Linked DNA regions of Homo sapiens: regions 2 and 3 are each linked to region 1. The links are contacts of gene promoters, found by promoter capture Hi-C in human tissues and cell types (Jung and others, 2019). All regions are on one chromosome and are shown on one strand. The core of a region is centred on a gene start or on the middle of the fragment in contact, and the rest is flanking DNA. Distances in the headings are between cores, read along the strand shown.

Region 1 (4,379 bases), core at 1,325-3,824:
GGGATTTCTTAGGAATGATAGAAATGTTGGAAAACAGGATTACAGTGATGGTCCACACAAGTATAAAATTTTACTAAAAATAATTGAACTGTACACTTAAAACAAGCAAATGTGATGTCAATTATACCTCAGTAAACCTATTTAAAAATAAAAGAAAGTTGGTAGTATGGTTCCCAATCACTCTGGACCTTTGTTTTATTTCTCCCTTTCTTTAGGGCTTATATTTATTGCTTCCACTCAGAGACTCCAAGACACATGAGCTGAAATCTACGAGCCTCCAGAACGTTCAACAGCTGAAAGAAAGTCCAGCCCCACACTGAAGGCGATGGGGGATCTTTAAGGTGCTCTCCAGCACTGCTACAGCAGGCAAAGGCATGCGATGCACCTGGGTAGTTTCAGATAGTACTCCACAAGTCTCAGCAAGACCCAGGGCCTGTAAATAGTTCTGATAGTTTCAGAGAACAAGCTGCTACATCTTGTAGCACAAGGCCAACCTTTCCTAGGCAAGTGGTTTTGAAGCATTGGTAGTGAGGTCCAAAGTAGAAGATGAATGTCTACAACATGGAGGAGGGCAAGACCCAGAGTGGGGTGTCAAACTAAATCATTTGTAGAGTATTACTTTCAACAACTGCAGAAAGCATTCTTTTCAAGTGCTTATGGCATGTTCACCAATGTAGACCATATGCTGGACCATAAAACAAATCTCACTAAATATTCAAGAATCAAAATCATACAGTGCATATGCTCTGGCCACAGTAGTATTTAATTAGAAATCCATAACAATGAGATATCTAGAAAATCCTCACTTTTAGAAAACAAGCAACACACTTCTGAATAACACTTGGGTCAGAGAAGAAACCACAAGACAAAACTTTAAATATTATTAACTGAATGATGATAACCCAATACATCAAAATGTTGGGTACAGCTCACACAGTGCTTAAAGAGAAATTTACAACTTTTAATGCCTATAGTGGAAATAGGAAAGGAGTAAAGAAAAACAATTTTCTATGCTTTTATTATCAGGATCCTGAAAAACGGGGCTGGGTGCAGTGGCTCACGCCTGTAATCCCAGCACTTTGGGAGGCTGAGGCGTGCAGATCACAAAGTCAGGAGTTTGATACCAGCTGGTCAACATGATGAAACCCCACCTCTACTGAAAATACAAAAATTAGCCCGGTGCAGTGGCGGGCACCTGTAATCCCAGCTACTTCGGAGGCTGAGGTGGGAGAATTGCTTGAACCCGGGAGGCAGAGGTTGCAGTGAGCTGAGATGGTGCCCCTGCACTTCAGCCTGGGTGACAGAGCAAGACTCCATCTCAAAAAAAAAAAAAAAAAATGTGAAAAACGAGTGAAAAAAAAAAACAAAATTAATAAATGTAAGCCAATAATAAAAATAATGAAAATCATGAAATAGAAAAATAAACAACAGAGACAATCAACGGTCAATTTTTCTGTACTCCCTGCACAAAACTTCATTTCAAAATAATTTTATATTTAAATATATATCCAGAACCACAGAGATCTTAGAAGAAAAAATTAGAGAAATATAGAAATAAAATGAGAACTGTGGGAATAAAAATCAGGAAGTAGTTGCCTATGAGGTAGATTGGGGGAAGGTCAGGGAATTAACAGGGAACAGGCAGAAAACAACTTTCTGGAGTGACGGAAATGGTCTATATCTTTTTTGGGGTGCTACTTACATGGGCATATATAACTGTCAAGTTCCACTGAACTGAACACTGAAGACCTGGGCATTTTAATGCATGTAAATTATATTTCAATTTTTTTGAGTAAAGTGTCTTGGGAAGCTTATGGCGGTGATATTTGGGCAGTTCTGGGGCATAGGCTTCAGAAGCATTCACAGTATGTCCAGTTCAAGAATTTGCTGAGAATCGTTTTGCAGCCAAAAATATGGATAAGTTCGAACACCTATGATAAGAGTCATTGGGGCATACAACCACAAATCCCCACTCTTGTGATACAGGCCATATCATTAAGTGGTTATCACCAGATAGCTTTCCTTCAATGATGTTGTTCATCTAGGAACCCAGGGCTCTCCAGGGGCAAATGACCATTGAGGTTTCAGATATATTGGGTAGGAAAGAAAGTCACCTCACATAAAACTAAGTGATTGGAGCTGTCACCATTGCAAATTTCTAAATTTTGTAAGACAGCAGCAACATTTCAAATGATAGTCTGAGAGAGGAGATAATGGGCTTACATGGATTTCCCTCCAGATGGATTTACTGAACAAGGGCACAATTCAAATTGCACTTGCAGATTTCTCCTGGTCTAGTTTAAGTTCACAGATTGTGGATCCCAGACAGCTGGTATCAACTGACTAGTGTCCTGTTAAGGCTAAACCCAAGACTCTTTGCCACACTGCAGCATTAGGATGGGACTTCTCTTCCTGTTCCTGGGAAGAATTAGAGATGTAACCCAAAGGTCACTATTTTTCTGAGATAAGGATCCCATAGGAGGAGAGAGCAATGAGTACATGGCCAGAGATCAAAGTGATAAGGGTTGGGCCAGAAGCCACAGTGCATAAAGCTTCAGACTTGCCACAGGAAATGAGGTGAGAAGTACGTCCACTCTTCTGTCCAGCTTTTAACAATCTAACTAATGGTTAGAGATTTTTCATTTTCTTTCAGCTACTCCTGCAGTGGTGGGGACACAGAATGTTTGCAAAAAAAATGGGGTGGAGGAAAATGAGGCATCTGTGTGAGTATATAACCATTTGACATCTCTTTTTAGCCCTCTCCAGGGTCACCCTAGAATCAGATCTGCTCCCCAGCATCTTCTGTTTCCTGGTGAGTGATTCCTGCTACTTTGGATGGCCATGACGGGCTGGAGCTGCCTTGTGACAGGAGCAGGAGGGTTTCTGGGACAGAGGATCATCCGCCTCTTGGTGAAGGAGAAGGAGCTGAAGGAGATCAGGGTCTTGGACAAGGCCTTCGGACCAGAATTGAGAGAGGAATTTTCTAGTAAGTAAACTTGGGTCATGGGTGTGTGGTTCCATCTTAAACACTGCATGTATGTGGGGGGAGATGGACCTTGTCTAGCAAGTTATTGAAATTTGTAGCCAAATCTAAGCCAATCTCACATCCAAAGTCATCAAGAAATAAATATTAAATAGTATAAAATGGCATAGTATGAAAGATACTGGGTGGGATTTCCAGAGACTAGATTCTGGCCCTGACCCAGAACTTGAGAAGCAGCCACCTCAGCCTCCAGGCCTCTTTTCTTCTCATCTAGAAAATCCCACATCAGTTCTTTGTCTTGTCTGCAACTCTTTTATGTTCTGAAGCTTTTGTCTTGGCAATTGCTGTACAACATTCATAAAGGACACTATTACCCTGGAGACCTCACCAATGGGTCATTGTCTCTCTAGAACGTGCCAGGCTGTGTTTTGTTTTGCAGCTTCCTTAGTATCCTTTGTGAGGGCAAAATAAAAGGAAGTTAAGGTAAAGATGAGTGTATAAGTGGGTGTGTGTGACAGAGAGAGAGGAAAACAATAAGGGGGAGAGAGAGTCGGGGAGAGAGAGTCGGGGAGAGAGACTCAGAGAGAGAGACAATGAGAAAGACAGAGAAATAATGAAAAATATATAGTGAGAGAGAGAGCATCAGTGAGAGAATGTGTGTGCACAGTGCACAGCACAGAGCAGAGACAGAGTAAGAGGCAGTATAAGGCCAGACATGCCTCATTTAGATTTTGCATATATGGCTTTTTTTTAAAAAAAAAAAAACAAAACATTTACCTCTGTTGCTCATCATCAAAAAGAAATTGACTGCAGAATTTTCTGTGGCAACTCCTTGTACAAATGGCCCCAAGAGGCAGGTAGAAAAGGCATCACATCCAACAGGACAATGAACGCATCAAGGTCCGGAATCACAAAGCAACATGCTAAGGCCATCTGATTGATGCGTAGCAGAGCTCAGACCAGAGCTTTATCCATAGGCTATTTCACCTGGCCCCAGAGCTGATGCTTGGCAAAGTGGATCTTCAGTCTCTCCCTTTGCTCCTTGGTGTGCCCCAAAACAATTCCCTGTCCTCCTCCCCAACCCAGGGGATTTGGGGGACTGTGTGTCTACATGTGGGCTCTGGCTGCCCAGAGGGTCCTGCCCTGCCCACAGAGAATCCCCCACTTGACAGCACTCAGGGACCACACCCAACACTCTACTTTTGCTCTTCTCTGACCTCTTGAAATGTTCGATTTCTTCCACCCTCTGTTTTAATGTTGTCTTTGATAAACAAATATGAAATGCTTATAATCCTTGCCTGTGTCTCAGCAATATTTGCAATTTAACATCTGAAGCCAGAAAAAAGCAATGCTCAGCCTAGAGGTATTGTTCCCCTATGGTAAAAATGCAGATCAT
Region 2 (4,379 bases), core at 879-3,378, 45 kb after region 1:
CCGCTTAAAGGGTGCCCAGCTCTCCTGCCAGCACATCCTTCCCAGCTCCTTATTTACTATCCAATATGTCTCATTTTACAGCCTCTGTGTCTTGTGCATATCGAGTTGCACTCTCACTGATTTTTCATTTATATATCCTGTTCCGCACCCCTACACTGCCGTGTCTTGAGGACAGTAACTCACCATGTCATCTCTCTGTCCCCAGTGACTGACACAAAATAGACACATGGGCTGATGGAGGGATGGATGGATGGAAGGATGAAACACAAGTAAACTCATCTGTTAGAATGGAGAGAGGAAGGGATAGACAGTCAGGGAGCAGAATGCTTTGAATGACAAAGTAAGAAAGAATTCACAGATGACTTTTCAAGGTGTCCATGAACCTGAAGAAGCTAGATCATCATAAAGAGATCCAGGAGAAAGAGAAGGCGCACGGAGTGTATGGAGCTGAGAATGAACTCATTTGTGTGATATGAAGAGTGAGTGGGGTTGTGAGAGGCCTACAAGCAGGGAAATGGAAAGGCTGATGAAAGTGAAGCCCAGCTGCCAAGGTTATAAAGGGACTGGGAATTAAATCCAAAACCTGAAATGGCACAAGGCCCAGAGCATTTTTATACTATAAGAAAAAGAAAATTTGTTTTAAAAATTAAATTCAGAAGAGAATCTCACACTCTTAGGCAACTCAAGTGAGGATCACTCAACATCTCTGGCTACATGTTCTTCTTGAGACATCAAGAGACTCTGGTGGCAATTTGGAGGGATTTTTTTTCCTTTTTTTTTTTTTTTTTTTAATCATGGACCAAGATGCCACCCAAGTCTAATGAGCAGGGAATGGAGTCGGTGATCTGAGGCATGAAATAGGTTCATTATGAGGAAGTGAAGGGGGAAGGCTAGATGAACAGAAGAAAGTGGCTTGGCCACTCTGTCCCCAAAAGCAGGGGGCACTGGGGTCAGTTGCAGACTCCAAAACAGTCAGTAATCTGTTCTGGAAACCTGAAGCTCCCTATTGAACAGCGGACTCTTTCCTCAAGAAATGGAAGAACCAGCACTAGCAAAGTCAGCCATTCTTCCTAAACAGATACTGGTGACAGAGGTGTGGGCATGAGGTGGGCTGTGGGACTATTGTCATCCTAGCATGAACCCTGGCCACTGAGGTAGGAATACCCTTCTCATGAGCCCAGACCTAACTCCTTCCTGCATCAGCTGGAGTCTGTCAAATCCCTGGTGTAGCCCTGAGCAGAGCAGTTCCATGGGCACATGGCCTGTGCCATCACCCAGGCCCTGTGCTTGGCTTAAGGGGCTGCCATGGGACCCCACATTTCATTTTGCACTGATCCCTGTAAAATATGCAGGCAGTCTTGATTATGAGAACTTCTTTCAGCAGCAGGCAAAACACCTGTTGCCTGACCTATGGTGGGTAAATGGAAAAGGCTCCCTGGTTCTTCCAGGGCAGATCAATGTCCTTGTGGAGTTCAGATTTTAGAGCTAAAGAAAGCTTCCTCAGGCATGGAGGGGCACACCTATAGCCCCAGCTACTAGGAGACTGAGGCAGGAGGATCACTTGAATCCAGGAGTTCAAGGCCAGACAAGACCTCATCTCTAAAATTTTTATTAAATTGAAGTTAAAGAAGGATCTAGAGACCTTTACTCCAGCTTTTAACTGTGGGCTCCTTTCCTTATTTCATTTTACCAATGAGGAAACCGAGGCCTGGGAAGCAAGATGACTTTCCCAATGTTCACCTAGACCACCATCTGTAATAGTGACCTAGGATTTGCTACCTTTAAGATGAAAAGGGGGGTGAAGGCATAGAACTAGAAGGTTGCCCTACCAACATATTTATGAAGGGATTTAAAAAAACTGGGATGGGAGACATTTGAAAGAGGGCAGAGGGCAGGTTTAACCAGAAGTCAGCTAGCTAAGCCATTTGTCTGGCCCATACAGCCCAACCTCCCATGGGAACAACAGCTTGAGGAACGTGGGTGCTCCACGAACGGAGACAGGCAGATGTTTCATGATACAGAAATAAAAGTAGCTGGCTGTGAGAGGGACTAAGGAAAGGGGGAGAGGAGGGCAAAAAGAAACAAGTATTCTTTCATTTTAGAAACAGAATATTTCTACAAATGAGAGTGAGGGGTGCAAATCTTGAGTTCTCATTTCAATTTTGCCATCGAAGTTAAGCAAATCTCTTCACCTTCCTGGGTCTGTTTACCTTCCTGAGAAATGAAGGTTATGGCTCATTTCTAAGGTCTGTTGCCAGTGACATTGGGCTGTAAAAAAGTAAGTTGATTTGCATCCTCTGACACCTGCACACTTCTGCAGCTAAACTTCATAATAACACAAGCCTCCATGTGCTTATTTGTTTGCGTGAAGCTGAAGGCGCTTGAGAAAGTGGTTTCCCAGCACTTCCCTGGCTCTAGTGGCACCTGGCACCTCACTGGGAAAGGGGCATCATACCTCTCATAGGGTTGTCAAGGATCAAGAAGTGGGGCCAAAAAGTGTGGCCGATGCCCTCCCTCCCTGATATCTGCTGACCACTGAACTGCAAAACTTAGTGATGACTTAAATAAGGACTTTTGTCTTTACATTAAAATGTGGATGTTTCCCAAGTAGGTTTTAAAATTCTTAGAAAATCACTAGACACAAAAGTGGGCAGAGCCAATAGAGATAGTGCCTACTGAAGAGGAATCAGAAACCCAGAAAAGTCATGCCTTGCTCAAGTCCACTGCCAGTTAATGCCAAAGCTCTGCCCTGCACACTCCACGCACAGCACACCCTCAAAGGAGAGGCAGAACTAGTTCCTTCTTTCTTCCTGTTCTCAGGAAAGGGAGGCCATGCCTTCTCACTTCCTCATCACCCTGCCCCAGGAGCTGGAAATCCCAGAGGACACAGGCCACATGCACAGCAACTGCCTCTCTCCTCCTTCTAGGCTCCCAGGAGCTATGACACAAGACTTTAGGACACCCCTCAGCAGCCCCTTCTCTGCAGCACTGAGCACAACCACCTGGTAACCACCTTGCTTCCTAACATTCACACAAGCCCCTGAATCTTACAAGAGCCTTCGTGTTTGTCATTTGGTTTGATTTCCCCACACCTCATACCTGCATCTTTCCACTGCACAGATGAGAGCAAGATCAAGAATACCTATAGGGCTTGGTCTAGGCTGCAGCAACACTCAGCAGTGGCTGTGTCAGTCCAGTGAATCTCAGGCTATGAAGTCATGTCTGTGATTTCTACCAACTCTATTAACTTCAACACAGAAATCGGCAGAGCTACTTCAGGTGAAACCTTGAGGTGACCCTCATTTCAGACATTAGCTAATGCTGCCCTTGACAAGAGGCCTGTCTAGCCAGATCCTTTTCCAGCCCCTTGACAAAGTGAATTAGCTTTTCCAAGGTTACACACTGTTCCTTCCCTCACCCAACAAAGCCAGGTACAGTGGACATTGCCTAATTTGCAGCAGTGGTGGGAACCCTGACTTATAGTTGCAAAGTCCTTGGCAGAGAATCTGCTTAACACTGAGCCTTTGTTGAATGTACCGTCTTGCCCTAGCATAACATGTGAAGCCTTGACATGAAGTTCACCCTGTCCACCTCTCACCACCTGCAGCCCCAGGGGCCAAATCCTTAAAGTCATACATACAGTTGGCAAAATAATTCACCCCAAGCAGGTTGGGCAGGCAGGAAACAAAATCAGCCTTCACCTTCACCCTTAAATGGTGTTGGAATGTGTAAGCATCTCTACCTCTCTCATATCTGTCTCCCCAGCATTGAGCACTATGCCTGGAACATGTCTACTCAGCTGAGGGGTGAACTTCCCAGAGTCTCTGCTCTTAATGAGTCACAGTCTTGGGGCCTGGGGAAGGCCAGCCATACACAGATGGTATCAGAACACCCAGGCAGAACCACTCCCTACCTCAGCCCTTGATGCTTTCAGAAAAGCATCTCAGTGGAGTGTCTTCAGTGAATAAAAAGACTGCATGGAACTGCTTCCAGTGAATCCCTAGTCTCCATGAACAGGAGTCTGTCAGTTGCTTTACTTGTGTTGAACATCCTTCAAATATGTTCGTGAGAATGCCAGCTTGAACACCGCACATACACTGATACCATTTTCAAACTTCTTAAACAGAGGGAAACGTGGTATATGGAACAACTTGCCACCCACCTCACTGGCTTCCAAAGCTGAACATTCCTGGCTGCTAGAATAAGGCAGGGCACTGGCTGAATGCAGAGAGCACTGAGAAAAGTGGCCTGGATCTCACAGGAGCAGCTGGAAATTGAAACCCATTGGAATGTGCTTTGCATTAGCAGAAATGACCTTAAAACCACAGTCTGGCAGCAGAAAACTGCTATCTACAGGGTACTTGCAGCTGTGATAGGGA
Region 3 (4,379 bases), core at 982-3,481, 37 kb before region 1:
ATGAGAAAGATGGAGAACGAATGAGAAAGAGTGAGAGAGAGAGCAGCAGTGAGAGGGAGACAGTGTGCACAAGCACACAGCACAGAGCAGAGACAGAGTAAGAGGCAGTATAAGGCCAGGCATGCCTCATTTTCATTTCTCACATATGGCTTTTTTTTAAAAACCATTTGTCTCTGTTGCTCAATACCCGCCCCCCCCCCACCCCCACCCTGCAATTGCAGAATTTGTTGTAGCAACTCCTTGTGCAAATAACACTATGAGGAAGGTGGTAGAAAAGGGGTGATATCCAAGTGGACAATGAACGCATCAAGGTCCAGAAACAAAGCGATTTGCCAAGGCCATCTGATTAATGTGTAGCAGAGCTCAGACCAAAGCTTCATCCAGAGGCTTCACTTGGCCCTGGGGCTGACACTTGGCAAAATGGGTCTTCAGTCTCTCCTTTTGCCTCCCTGTGTGTCCAATTCCCTGTCCTCCTCCCCATCCCATGGGATTGGGAGGACTGTGTATCTACATGTGGGCTCTGATTGTGCAGAGGGTCATGTGCTGCCCACAGAAGAGTCCCCACTTGACAGCACTCAGGGACCACACCCAGCACTCTACTCTTCTTTCACTCTTCTCTGACCTCTTCTGATTTCCTCCACCCTCTGTTCTAATGGTGTCTTTGATAAACAAATATTAACACTTCATGAATTTTAAATGATTGTAATCATTATGTCTCACCAATATTTGCACTCTAACACGTAATACAAAGAAAAAGCAATGCTTAGCCTAGAGGAACAATTCCCCTGTGGTGAAAATGCAGGGGTATAATGGATGGGCAAAAGACTGTATGAAGATAAAAACAGAGAATCCTTTCAGTGTTTTTTCTGTGCCAGGCACTGTGCTACATGGTTTGCATGTGCCCACTCATTTGCTGCTCATAACAGCCCTATGAGATTGTTAATGTTATTAGCCTCCTTTCTTACAGATGAGGAAACAGTCAGAGAGAGATTAATGAACTTGTCCAATGTTCCACAGTTAGAATATGGCAAAGTTGGATTTGAACCCATGTGGTCTAGTGCAGCATCTGTGCTCTTAAGCAGTAGTTCGTCTAGCAGCTTGAGGAGGGAGGGAGCAATGGCTCCATCCACAAAGTCCCCTTTCCTGGTCTCTCTAGTTCCCTGTGAACTCACTGCGGAAGAGTCATTTTCTCTTGGCTTTAGACTTCTTCAGCTTTGAAATGACAATTCCTTTGAGCCAGTCTGAAGTTGGCAGCAAATGGGAAGCAGATGAAGGGAGCAGGAAGTACAGAGGTGGAAATACTACCAGAGAAAATTCCACTCTCAGGCTGTCACCCACCTCCTCCCCAGCAGCCTCTTCCCTGCCTCCCCCATTCCAGGGCCTCCTTGGAGTTGCCTGACAGTGGGAAGGGGCTGGGAGTAGACAAAACAAGGCAGAGGCATCAGGAGAGCAAATGGTCCCACCTGTATCCCAGGAAGGAATTTCTCCTGCTTTGAATTTTTCACTCTGAATTTTACTCTCACTGTTCTTTGGCCTTTGTTGCCAATTTCAGTTAAACTGACTTATTCTTACTCTTTCTCAGAAAAGTTGATTGTAAACAGCTATTCCTGCACCTGGTGTACAGGGTACAAGACTTGGAGGTGGGGTGGGCAACTTTGAGCCTTCACTAGAAACGTGACCTTTAATCTGTCCCTTAACCTCTCTGAGCCCCAGTTTCTTCACCAATAAAATGGGATTCAGAACACCTACCTCATGAGACAGCTGTAAAAGGAAATAAGCAAGCTGTGAGCTGTATGCAGATTATAAAGCACAAATGAGTGTAAAGTATTTATCTGAGCTCCATGTAGCATGGTGTTCATTTTGTGGGCTAATTCCAGGTGACAACTTTACTGGCAGCATCACTACCTGTGGATTTCAGAGGAGCCTGAAGACATTGATGTTGTAACTGCTGCCCTGGGCTACACAGCTGGATGTTAGTTCATTGGTGACTGACTCATTTTCAGCATTTGTACCTCCTTTGATAATATCCAATAAGAATTTTCAAAAAAATTCATTATTTAAACTCTTCTGCAATTCGCTAGTAATGGCTCCACTCTCCTCCCAGTTGCTCAAGCAGGAAACCATAGGGGTGATTTTATCTTCTCCTTTTCCTCTCAGCCAAGATCCAACAGGTACCAGGACCTTCAAGGTGAGGTCTGAAATTCCAACCTGGTGTATCTCTCTCCTCCTCTGCTTCCACTGCTGGACCCCGCTTCCAGTCCTCATCTAAACTTTGGCACAGACATTCTGATTAATCTCTTGATCCCCTGGCTTTCTCATATCCCCTATACCAGTCCATTTTATATCCTTGAGGCAAGGTTAACTTCCTACACTACAATTCTGCTTCTGTTTTTCTTTTTCTTTTTGAAACAGGATTTTGCTGTGCCACCCAGGCTGGAGTCCAGAGGCATGATCTCTGCTCACTGCCACCTTCACCTCCTGGGACCCATCCATCCTCCTACCTCAGGCTTCTTATTAGCTGGGAGTGTAGGCATTCACCACTATGTCTGGCTAATTTGTGTATTTTTGGTAGAGACGGGGTTTCACCAAGTTGTCCAGGCTGGTCTCAACCTCCTGGATGCAAGCGATCCACCTGCCTCAGTCTCCCAAATTGCTAGAATCACAGGTGTGAGCCACCACCCCTGGCCTGTTTCTCTACTTGTTCCAAATATAAATAAGGGGTTTTCTGTGACATGGTGCTGGAGACCGAAAATCACAATTCTGCATTACCTACAGAATTAAATTCAAACTTTTCCCTCTTATACCCAACTCTCCACAATCACCCTACTCTCCTTAAAAATTTTGGTGAGTCTCCCATGACCCTAGCCGTGCTTATATTCCAGGCACACCTGACAGCTCATTGCTCAGATTACTTTTCTGAAATGAGATGGGGTAGAAACAGATGTTTGCTCTTTCCCAAAAAATTGCTAAACGTGCTGACTTCTGTGCCTTTGTTTAATTGTTCCTTCCATGGAGTGTACATCCTCCACTCTAACAACCCAACTCTAACCATCCTCGAACACCTATGTAACATCATCTTTATCAGGAAACTTCCAAGCCAGATTCGGAAACCCTTCCAATGACCTGACCTATGTTCTTGCAGAGCTCCAGAACAAGACCAAGATGACAGTGCTAGAAGGAGACATTCTGGATCAGTCATGCCTGAAGAGAGCCTGCCAGGACATCTCGGTAGTCATCCACACCGCCTCTATCATTGACATCTTCGGTGTCACTCACAGAGAGTCTATCATGAACTTCAACGTGAAAGGTACAGTAGCCTGAGGAGGAGATGGAGCAAGGTGGAGCAAACAAGGATCAGAAAGATAAACAATGAAGGAAGAGAAGTCCCTCCGCTGAACACCTGCTATGCTCTGGGCCAAGTGTCTTTGCTAATCACTACCAACTGGGGGAGTTCAAAGCTGCTACCTTCAGTTTTTTACATGAGAAGACTAGGGCTGAGAGATGGCAAGTAACTTGTCCAAGGCCCCCCAGGTAAGTAAGTAAGTAGGAGAATGAGACTTTAAACTCACCCCTGTGTGACTCCAAAGGCTGTGGATGCTCTTTCTACTGTGGCTCCAATCAAATTCAGCTAAACTCCGACTTCAGACTCTTGATATCCAGCCACCCCTTGCCTCTGTGGGCCAGAATCAAATCTTCCAAGTGCCACTATAGTCATCATTTTAAATCTTGTTGTACACTGATGAGAATGAAATGGGAAAAATCCCTTGTCCCCTTCACAGTGCGTGTGATGGGGGTGTGGCTCCCTCCTTCAGTGCCCCTGCTCAGACCACTAGGGGAGCATACGGATGAGCAGGCTGGAGGGCTCCAACTCCAAAGCAGCATCTAGGGGCAAATGTTCACAGCTCCTGAAGCCCCAGTGGGCATGTGTTACATGGTGCTCTTTTAGTTTTGCTCTTTTAGTTTTGCCGTCTATAGGCAGCTTGTGTTAACCAGCTCAATTAGACCTTAGACCGTCCAGCTTGCCACAAGGACGGAGGGCTTTCTATATCCTGGGTTCTTCTCTTAGTGTACCAGAAAAATTGAATCACACCTGAGCTTGGAGAATGAGTGCAAGCTTTTATTGAGTGGAGGTAGCTCTCAGCAGATGGAGGAAGCCAGAATAGAATGGTTTTCCCCCGGAGTGTGCTGCTCAGTGGCCTGACACTTCCCTAACTGCTTGGCCAAACTCTGCATCCTTCTGCTGGTCAGTGCATCCCTCTCAACATCCAGCTGCCCTGTGTTTCTTCACTGATGTGCTTCCCTCAACATCTAGCTGCTTCTGTCTTCTTCCCCTGATCTGCTCCTCTTGACATCCAGCAGCTTGTGTGTGTCTGCTAGAA

Evidence for each region. Contacts are between HindIII fragments. The study calls those that stand out against the background at their distance.
Region 2: a fragment that was not itself captured here is called in contact with the fragment with the promoter of HSD3B1 in region 1 in 2 of the 25 tissues and cell types used here (bladder and pancreas).
Region 3: a fragment that was not itself captured here is called in contact with the fragment with the promoter of HSD3B1 in region 1 in 2 of the 25 tissues and cell types used here (pancreas and thymus).

The regions. Positions count from the first base shown.
Region 1 is chr1:119,504,636-119,509,014 of GRCh38, forward strand. HSD3B1 (hydroxy-delta-5-steroid dehydrogenase, 3 beta- and steroid delta-isomerase 1) reads left to right here and starts at 2,575. Exons shown (of 4, transcript NM_000862.3): 1 at 2,575-2,627; 2 at 2,757-2,986. The coding sequence starts at 2,842. RefSeq lists promoters at 1-2,756, 2,083-2,756 and enhancers at 1-57, 2,679-2,702. The HindIII fragment of the contact is 2,119 bases long and covers 2,182-4,300 here.
Region 2 is chr1:119,550,037-119,554,415 of GRCh38, forward strand. No RefSeq gene overlaps it. Among named protein-coding and RNA genes, the nearest start is that of HSD3B1, 45 kb to the left of the region's middle. The HindIII fragment of the contact is 6,778 bases long and covers 1-4,379 here.
Region 3 is chr1:119,467,953-119,472,331 of GRCh38, forward strand. It overlaps the pseudogene HSD3BP1. Among named protein-coding and RNA genes, the nearest start is that of HSD3B1, 37 kb to the right of the region's middle. The HindIII fragment of the contact is 4,265 bases long and covers 100-4,364 here.